2 separate regions of the Homo sapiens genome follow, and region 1 is linked to region 2. Evidence: promoter capture Hi-C in human tissues and cell types (Jung and others, 2019). All regions are on one chromosome and are shown on one strand. Each heading gives the region's core, a stretch centred on a gene start or on the middle of the fragment in contact. The rest is flanking DNA. Distances are from core to core; before and after follow the strand shown.

Region 1 (3,987 bases), core at 669-3,168, 350 kb after region 2:
ACTAGGCTTGGCCACTGGAGGGCAGTGAGTTACACTTTTCTGATACTGTGCTGAATTAGCCGAAAGTTCTCTCTCCCCTAAGGGATGGAGGTGGAGCACCACCACTTAGTCAACAAGTCTTTGATGAGCACCCACATGTGCAGGGCACTGCTCTAGGCACTGGGGTTTATGACCATAAACGAAGTAGACAAAAACCCTGCCTTCTACTTCTAGGTATTTATTCAAGGAAAATGAAGGCTTATAGCCCCAAAAGACATGCACAAACATATTCACAGCAACTTTATACAGACATAAAATGAAACAACCCTAATATCAGCTAATATGAGAACAGATATCCATACCACAGAGCAGTACTCAGCAATAAATGAGAACGTACTATTAGTAGTACAGCAACATGGAAGAGTCTCAGAAACCATGAAACAGAATGAAAGAAGCCAGATACCAAAAAATATATATATTGTATGATTCACATTATATGGAGTTAAAAATAGGTAAAGCTTATCTATGGCGATAGAAATGAGAGCAAAGTTTACCTATGGTGGGAGGTGGGCTGAGAATGAGCATAAGGAAACATTTCCGGGGTGATGGAAATATTCTCTATTTGGATGGGGGCATTTTTTTTTTAAACCATAGACATAAACATGTGTCAAGACTCATAGAACTGTGCACATATGTGCAGTTTACTATGCGTAATTCTACTTTTTTAAAAAAATCGCTTTCTTAGTTTAATTTCTGGTGGGCAGAAACAGACAATCAACTGAAAAAACAGATATTTGTAGGATTGAGATAAGTGCTATGGATAGAAACAAAGCAAGAAAGAGGGACAGGGATGTGCCATGCTGGCAAGTGTGGGAGCAGGAGGCAGGTTTTAAACCGGGTGGTGAGCCGCCTTCACACTGAGGAGATGACATTTGAGCAGAGCCCTGAAGGAGGTAAGGGAGGGAGCTGTGCAGTTAATTTTTGATAGTCAACACTCACATTTTCAAAGAAAAGGTAGTGTGGATCCTGTTGTCTTGTCTTGCTCCTGGGCTGTTGTGGATTGTGCTCGCCCCCCACGCTCAGTCCTGGGAGGCGGCATCCTCCATCTTACATCTGACTCTTTGCATCAGCTTTGCCCAGTCTGTTCCTCCCTGTCTGGCTAGGCCAAAGATGAAACTGGACAAACTTTATTATTGTCTCAAGAGGCCATTCCTTTTCTGCTTTTTAAAATGTGAACTTCATATTAAATCATACATTTAGAAAAGTGCATCTGTCATACATGCACAGTTCGATGAATTTCCCCAAAATAACCAGCACTCACAGCAAGACGTGGAACGTTTCTAGGACTTCAGAAGTCCCTTTGTGTTCCCTCCTAGTCCCTACCCCGTCCTCTCCTCCCCTGCCCCTACAAGGGTAACTACTTTACTGATTTCTAACACCTAGATTAGTTTTGCCTATTTCCTTTTTTTTTTTTGAGACGGAGTGTTGCTCTGTCCCCCAGGCTGGAGTGCAGTGGCGCAATCTTGGCTCACTGCAAGCTCTGCCTCCCGGGTTCACGCCATTCTCCTGCCTCAGCCTCCCGAGTAGCTGGGACTACAGGCGCCCGCCACCACGCCTGGCTATTATTTTTTTGTATTTTTAGTAGAGACAAGGTTTCACTGTGTTAGCCAGAATGGTCTCGATCTCCTGACCTCGTGATCCACCCGTCTCGGCCTCCCAAAGTGCTAGGATTACAGGCGTCAGCCACCGCGCCCGGTCAGTTTTGCCTATTTCTAAGCTTTATCTAATTTGAATCATATAGTAAGAATTTTCCACTTTAATGTTGTTAGTTTGGAGGGAATTGGTGGGGAGTGGGCTTGATGCTGAGTTTTTAGCAGCCACCCTATTTGGGACTCAAGCTGCCTCCTGGCCCCATCTTCGTAGATGAAGCAGCCTCCCATGTGATAGGCAGCTGAGAAATATTGAGGCTCTTGCCAGCAGTGTGTGGAGATAGCCCAGTCAGGATGCTGAGCTGCTTTCAGTGACACTTGAAGACAGTGTGTGCGTTTGGTGGGACAGTGGTGCGTCCAGTGCTGGATTTCCTGTCATTGCAGGAGGTGAGCTCTCCAAGGGCAAGTTGTGGCTTGTCATTTCTGAGACTATAAGACCTAGCCTAGTCCTCTACCCTGGCAGTGAGCTGAGCAGGATGTGCACATTTGCTCTCTGTCCCTCATCTGACCCCAGGGATAAGTGAGAAATCGTAACAGAGGAGATGTTGAGGTAGCCAACATATTGAAGATATTTGAGCCTACATGAGTAGCCTCTGTGAACAGCTGACACTGGCAGTGGGGACCCTGAGCCTCCCAGAGCCTGTTCACATCCACAGCGTCTTAGTAACATGCTGCCCATCTCTGTGAGTGGTCTTTGGGCAGGTCCTAGAAGATTAAGTATGTGCTGGACCTTGCCTTTCCTTTGCCTCCTCTTCCTTTACTCCATAACCCAAATACTCAGAGTTTGGGCTCATATAATCTGGGATCCTATAGCCAATGTCAGGAGGCTGACTTAACCAGCAGCAACTAATGTTTGCTAAATAAAAGTAAAAGTAATACAGCAACCTAAGGAAAATAGTGAAAACTTGGTGGTATGTTGGTTTTTAAAATTAATTTTAACCAGGGCATCATGATACATGTATACCCATGCTATCCTATACTGAGCAGCCAGAGTTCATGTATTATTCTGAGTTAATAGTCACCACCCTGATTGACAGGCACAGTGTCAGAATGCTGTATGGTCAGCTAAGCAGCATCTTCAAAATAGCACATCTCCTCTGACAGTCAGAAAAACATGGGCCTTGTGAAACAGAACCACCTCCCAGTGGGTCTCTTCTCTGTGGGAATCTCGAAATAAGTCTTTCCTCCAACCATCTCATTGGAGTGGCCATCTCTCTCAGAGACCAGCTCCCCCTGTCTTTGTCAGGTGGTTTGGCTTTCCCAGGTTTAGCGAGGGGCCTCTCCACCCTCTCTACACTTACAGGTTTGCAGTGCTATTATTGTCTCAGCTGCTGCCATCAGGTACTTTCCTGAAAATGCCAGATGCATAACACCCAACAATACGTTTATATATAGCGCTTGAACCAGTTCAAAATTATTACATAGAAGTGATAAGATGAATTCTTGACAGTTTTCTTAAAACTGCTTTTTTCTGAATGAAATATTTGTTGCTGTTTTAAGAGGTTCTTTAGATATGGTCAAAAATATTTTTTTATTTTTCTCAGTCAGTTTACTTTTGTTATGAGAAATTTTTTTTTCTTTTTTTTCTTTTTTTTTTTTTGAGACAGAGTCTTCTCGCTCTGTCGCCCAGGCTGGAGTGCAGTGGCATAATCTCGGCTCACTGCAATTTCTGCCTCCCGGGTTCAAGCAATTCTCCTGCCTCAGCCTCCTGAGTAGCTGGGACTACAGGCACCTGCCACCATGCCCGGCTAATTTTTATATTTTTGGTAGAGACGGGGTTTCACCATATTGGCCAGGCTAGTCTCAAACTCCTGACCTTGTGATCCACCTGCCTGGAGCTCCCAAAGTGCTGGGATTACAGGCGTGAGCCACAGCGCCTGGCCTGTTATCAGAAAATATTACGCAAGGTATTCTTATGAGTCCGGTTCAACAACAACAACAACAAGGACCCGAATCAGGTAAACCAGAGGCTTTGGAAAATAGAAAGGCCATCTGCAGCTGAGGCGTTGGAGCCTCTTGGTCCGGCCGGTCAGGTTGAATCATGCTGGCCCACCAGATCACATCTAGAAATTGTCCTGAGATCACAGATGGTTCCTGGGAAATGCCTAGAGCAGTGAATAGACAAGTTACTCTTGTTGGTGTTGGTAAAACCAGTTCTTCCTAAAACTGTCAGGGAATTTTTGAGGCATATATTAAGCTGATTTTTTAGGACTGGGGCTCAGAGTTCTTGGAAAAATAAACAGTTGACTGGAGCCATCACTCAAGTACATTTCATCAGTTAATAAATGGGCATGTTCTT
Region 2 (4,249 bases), core at 638-3,137:
CAATAGGGATTGCATTGAATCTGTAGATTGCTTCAGGCAACATTGACACCTTAGCAATATCAAGTCTTCTAATCCATGAATATAGGATGACTTTCCATTTATTTGTGTCTTCTTTCACTTTGTTTGTCAACACTTGTGATTTTCAGCGTACAAGTCTTTTGCTTCCTTGGTTAAGTTTATTGCTAAGGGCCAGGCGCAGTGGCTCACACCTGTAATCCCAGCACTTTGGGAGACCGAGGCGGGCGGATCACGAGGTCAAGAGATCAAGACCATTTGGCCAACATGGTGAAACCCCATCTCTACTAAAAATACAAAAATTTGCCGGGCATGGTAGCAGCTATGGTGGGCAGCATGGTGGGCAAGTAGTCCCAGCTACTTGGGAGGCTGAGGCAGGAGAATCACTTGAACCCAGGAGGCAGAGGTTGCAGTGAGCCAAGATCATGCCACTGCACTCCAGCCTGGGTGACAGAGCGAGACTCCATCTCAAAAAAAAAAAAAAAGTTTATTGGTAAGAATTTTATTCTTTTTATTCTTTTTCATTGCTTTTATAAATGAAATTGTTTTCTTAATTTCCTTTTTGGATTTTTCATTATTAGTGTATAGAAACAACTAATTTCTATGTGTTAATTTTGTATCCTGCAACTTTGCTGACTTTATTAATTCTAATAAGTGTGTGTGTGTGTGTATGTGTGTGTAATCCATCTTGGTTTTGTTTTTATTTTTACTTGGAGACTCAGGCAGGGACAGGTTTTCTTGTCATCTTCCAAAGCCTGTGGGTAGACTTTTTCTAGGTCCCTATTCATTGAAGAAGCAGGCTTCAAGGATCCCAGCTGTCCTCAAGAGTACTGGTTCCAGCTTCCTGCTTCATGAACCGGTCATGGCCCCTGCAAGGTCAAGGTCATTATAATGCCAGCACCTGACTGCTAAGGCTATTTCCCTTCCAATACCTTCCCCTCAGAGCTCCTGGTGCATCAGCTCATTCAACCTTCTGCTTTTCTGCTCTCTCTTGATTTAAGAAACAGACACATTATATTTCTACATAGTTAGAGCACAGGGGTCCCAGCATCCCACTTCCAAATGAGCATGTCAAGCACATGCATTCAGAGAGGATACCTGGAAGCCAAAATTTTGCCATAGTGAAAGGCCTTATTCCTGAATACAGCTAGAGTGGGGAAGACCTTGGCCTCTCCCCCCGCAGGCAAGAATGTTGCCTCCACAGGGGGCTGGTAGCCTGCTAAGGCCCAGGCCACATGAGTGGGTTGTCTACTGTTACTGAGGGCCTACTATGTGCCAGACACCATACTAGGTGCTTTACATACATTATATGTCATTGAATCTTCCCTCTAGTCCTGTGAGATAGGTACTATTATTGTCACTGATTCACTTGAGAAAGCTGCCAAAACACAGATAGCAAGGGGCAGAACCAGGATTCTGATTTAGGTTGGCTCAGCCTTTTATCAAATACATCTGGTCTTCCTCTGTCCTTTCAAAAGCCTATAGCTTCCTCATCTTGCCCACTCCTCTGTGGGTAGGGTCTGTGGTTTCCTTTCTCTTATCTATCTTCAACACACAGTGGGTGTGACCTGGGTGCAACCAGTCACAGCTCTGCAGAGGTTACTGTGATTTTGCCCCTGAAGGATCTGTCCACAACTTAGGAACTCACACAGCTTTTGGCCTGAGCCCCCGTTACCAAGAGAAAGGAGGTTTTTGCCAAGGACTCCAAGGGGAGTGCACTTGATGCTGGTCGGGACCCAAAGCGCCCAGCCCTCCCTGAGACATTGTGTGAGTCGGGCTGGGCCTCAAACACGGCCCCCACTGCCCCACCCCAGCCAGGGTGGTGCTTGTGTGGGAAGGACTTTAAATCCAGCTGCCAGACCCCTGGACGGGAGAAGGAGAGACGGCTGGCCACCATGCACGGCTCCTGCAGTTTCCTGATGCTTCTGCTGCCGCTACTGCTACTGCTGGTGGCCACCACAGGCCCCGTTGGAGCCCTCACAGATGAGGAGAAACGTTTGATGGTGGAGCTGCACAACCTCTACCGGGCCCAGGTATCCCCGACGGCCTCAGACATGCTGCACATGGTAAGTGTGGCCACGGCCCTTGCTGGCTGGGATGGAAGGGGTGCTGGCCAGGGTCTGTCACCAGGCTCTCTTACCCTGCTCCTCATGCTGAAGCTATTTCAGAATTCCTCTCCTTTTTCTGGTCAGTGACAGAGTCCCCGAGTCCCTGACATGGTATTACATTACTTTAAATGGCAAAAACCACAATTACTTTTGCACCCGCCTAATAAAATTCACAGGCCCCTATAAGCAGCCTCATAATACAGATAAGGAAAGTGAGGCTCAGAGGGATTTGTTGGGGTCACACAGCTGGTAGAGCCAGACCCAAAGCCCTGGCTTCCCACTCCAATGAGCTTTCCCCAGCACTTCCTCAAATGCATGTGCCCTCAGTGGGGGAACCCGGGAAGTTCTTAACACCTTTGTGAAAACGGTCTTTCACATGCCTGCCAAGGAGAGGACAAGAGGAAGCAGGGCAGCAGGATGGGCGTGGGCACGTGGAGTAGGAGGCAGGTGCTAAGGAGGTGGGTGACAGCAGGATCCAGAAGCAGAGAGGGCTCTGGATCACACAGTCCAAATTCTGTCTCGGTCACCTACAAGACCTATGATTCGAGGCAAGTCCTGTAACCTTGCCGATCCCGTGTCTCATCTGTAAAAGGCGGTCAGAATTAGAGCTACGTATATACCAGTGTGGATTGAATCTCACAGATATCATACTGAATGGGGGAGGAAATAAAATCTCTAAAAAATACACAGTAGGATCTCTTTACATGAAGTCTGAAAACATGTAAAAATACTATTTATGTCCTGGTGAAACACGCAGATGTAGTAAACATTACATGTACATGCACACAGGAGACAGAAGCCAGATTTAGGGTTGGTTACTTCTGTCAGGAAGAGCTATTTATGGTAGGGTGAGAGGCGGGCTGTCTATATGCAGAATTAAAGGAGATAAAGTGAGAAATTCACCCACTTCCTGCCCTCCCTGAGGGCTGAACTAGCTTGTCCCCTCCAGCCACCCTCAGGTGACTGGGGAGGTTGCTGGGCAGTGTTCAGGGACCCCTGGAGCTGGTGCCTGAGAGAACAGATGCACCTTGGGGAACATAACAGTGAGCCTGGGGCCCCAAACCTAAGTTCTAACCTCAGCCTAATGTGATCTGGCTGAAGTAACTCTGGGTGGACCCCTTTCCCTTCAAAGGCCTCTGTTTCCAGATGGAAACATGGGGCTGGCGATCCCTGCCCTGGGCGTCAGACAGGATGACACGTAAGAAAGATCTAGGAAGAGCTCTGCACACACCCAGCACTGCCGTTCACAGCTGTGCCAGCCTGCACATCGAGGAAAGGTGGACAACAAACCAGGCGTCACAGATGCAGCTCTGCCAACAGCTCCCTGATTGAGGCCTGTGACTCATTGTTGGACTTCAGTTTCCCCACCTGTAGATCCCTGATGCCCTACAGTCTTGCTGGCTGAGACTGGGGGCCACACAGGCTGGGAGCTGCTTCTCAGACAGAGGTGCGCCTTGGAGTGGGGCAACATTCTGGGAGGCAGTTGGGATACTGAGGGGATATGCTGCTGCCTAATGGGGAGTGACATGAGGAGGAGGAGATGAGGCTGGGGCTGGGATGCCAGGAAACATTCAGGACAAGACTCAGGTTCAACCTCAGCAGTGGTGAGGGCAGGGACTCTGCAGCCAAATGGCCTGGGTTCAAATCTTAGCTTTGTTACTTATTAGCTTTGTGACCTTGGCCAAATTAAACTCTCTGTGCCTCAGTCTCCTCATCTGTAAAATGGGGATGATAACAGTGGGATAATTCCCTTGTAGCTACAGTGGTTGTAGGGTTAAGTGAGTGAATATGTGTAAAGCACTCAGAAGAATGCCTGGCACACAGTAAGTGCTCAGTAAGTGTCTGATTAACACAAAAGAGGGAATGGATCCAGGGTGAGGCAGGTGGGGGTTATCATGAACTCTTCCTTCTCTCTCAGCCTCCAGAGCTAATCAGCACCAGTTTTGCCACCCCGAAGGTTCAATTGTCCTTGAAATCTAACCCTTACCCCTACCCCCTTCTCTTTTCAGCACAATCCTGGTTCAGGTTTCTTTCATTCTTCCACACAAGGACTCCTAGGATAGCCTCTACCTGTTCCCCAGCTTCTGGCCTCTGCTGTCAGAATGAATAATCCAACACATGGGCCT

The links. Contacts are between HindIII fragments. The study calls those that stand out against the background at their distance.
Region 1: a contact is called between a fragment that was not itself captured here and the fragment with the promoter of PI16 in region 2, in 2 of the 25 tissues and cell types used here (dorsolateral prefrontal cortex and spleen).

Annotation. Positions count from the first base shown.
Region 1 is chr6:37,304,083-37,308,069 of GRCh38, forward strand. The region is part of intron 8 of TBC1D22B (TBC1 domain family member 22B); the gene reads left to right. Among named protein-coding and RNA genes, the nearest start is that of RNF8, 48 kb to the right of the region's middle. RefSeq lists a silencer at 99-148. The HindIII fragment of the contact is 4,574 bases long and covers 1-3,987 here.
Region 2 is chr6:36,952,851-36,957,099 of GRCh38, forward strand. It overlaps PI16 (peptidase inhibitor 16), which reads left to right and starts at 1,888. Exons shown (of 7, transcript NM_153370.3): 1 at 1,888-2,081. The coding sequence starts at 1,911. The HindIII fragment of the contact is 39,732 bases long and covers 1-4,249 here.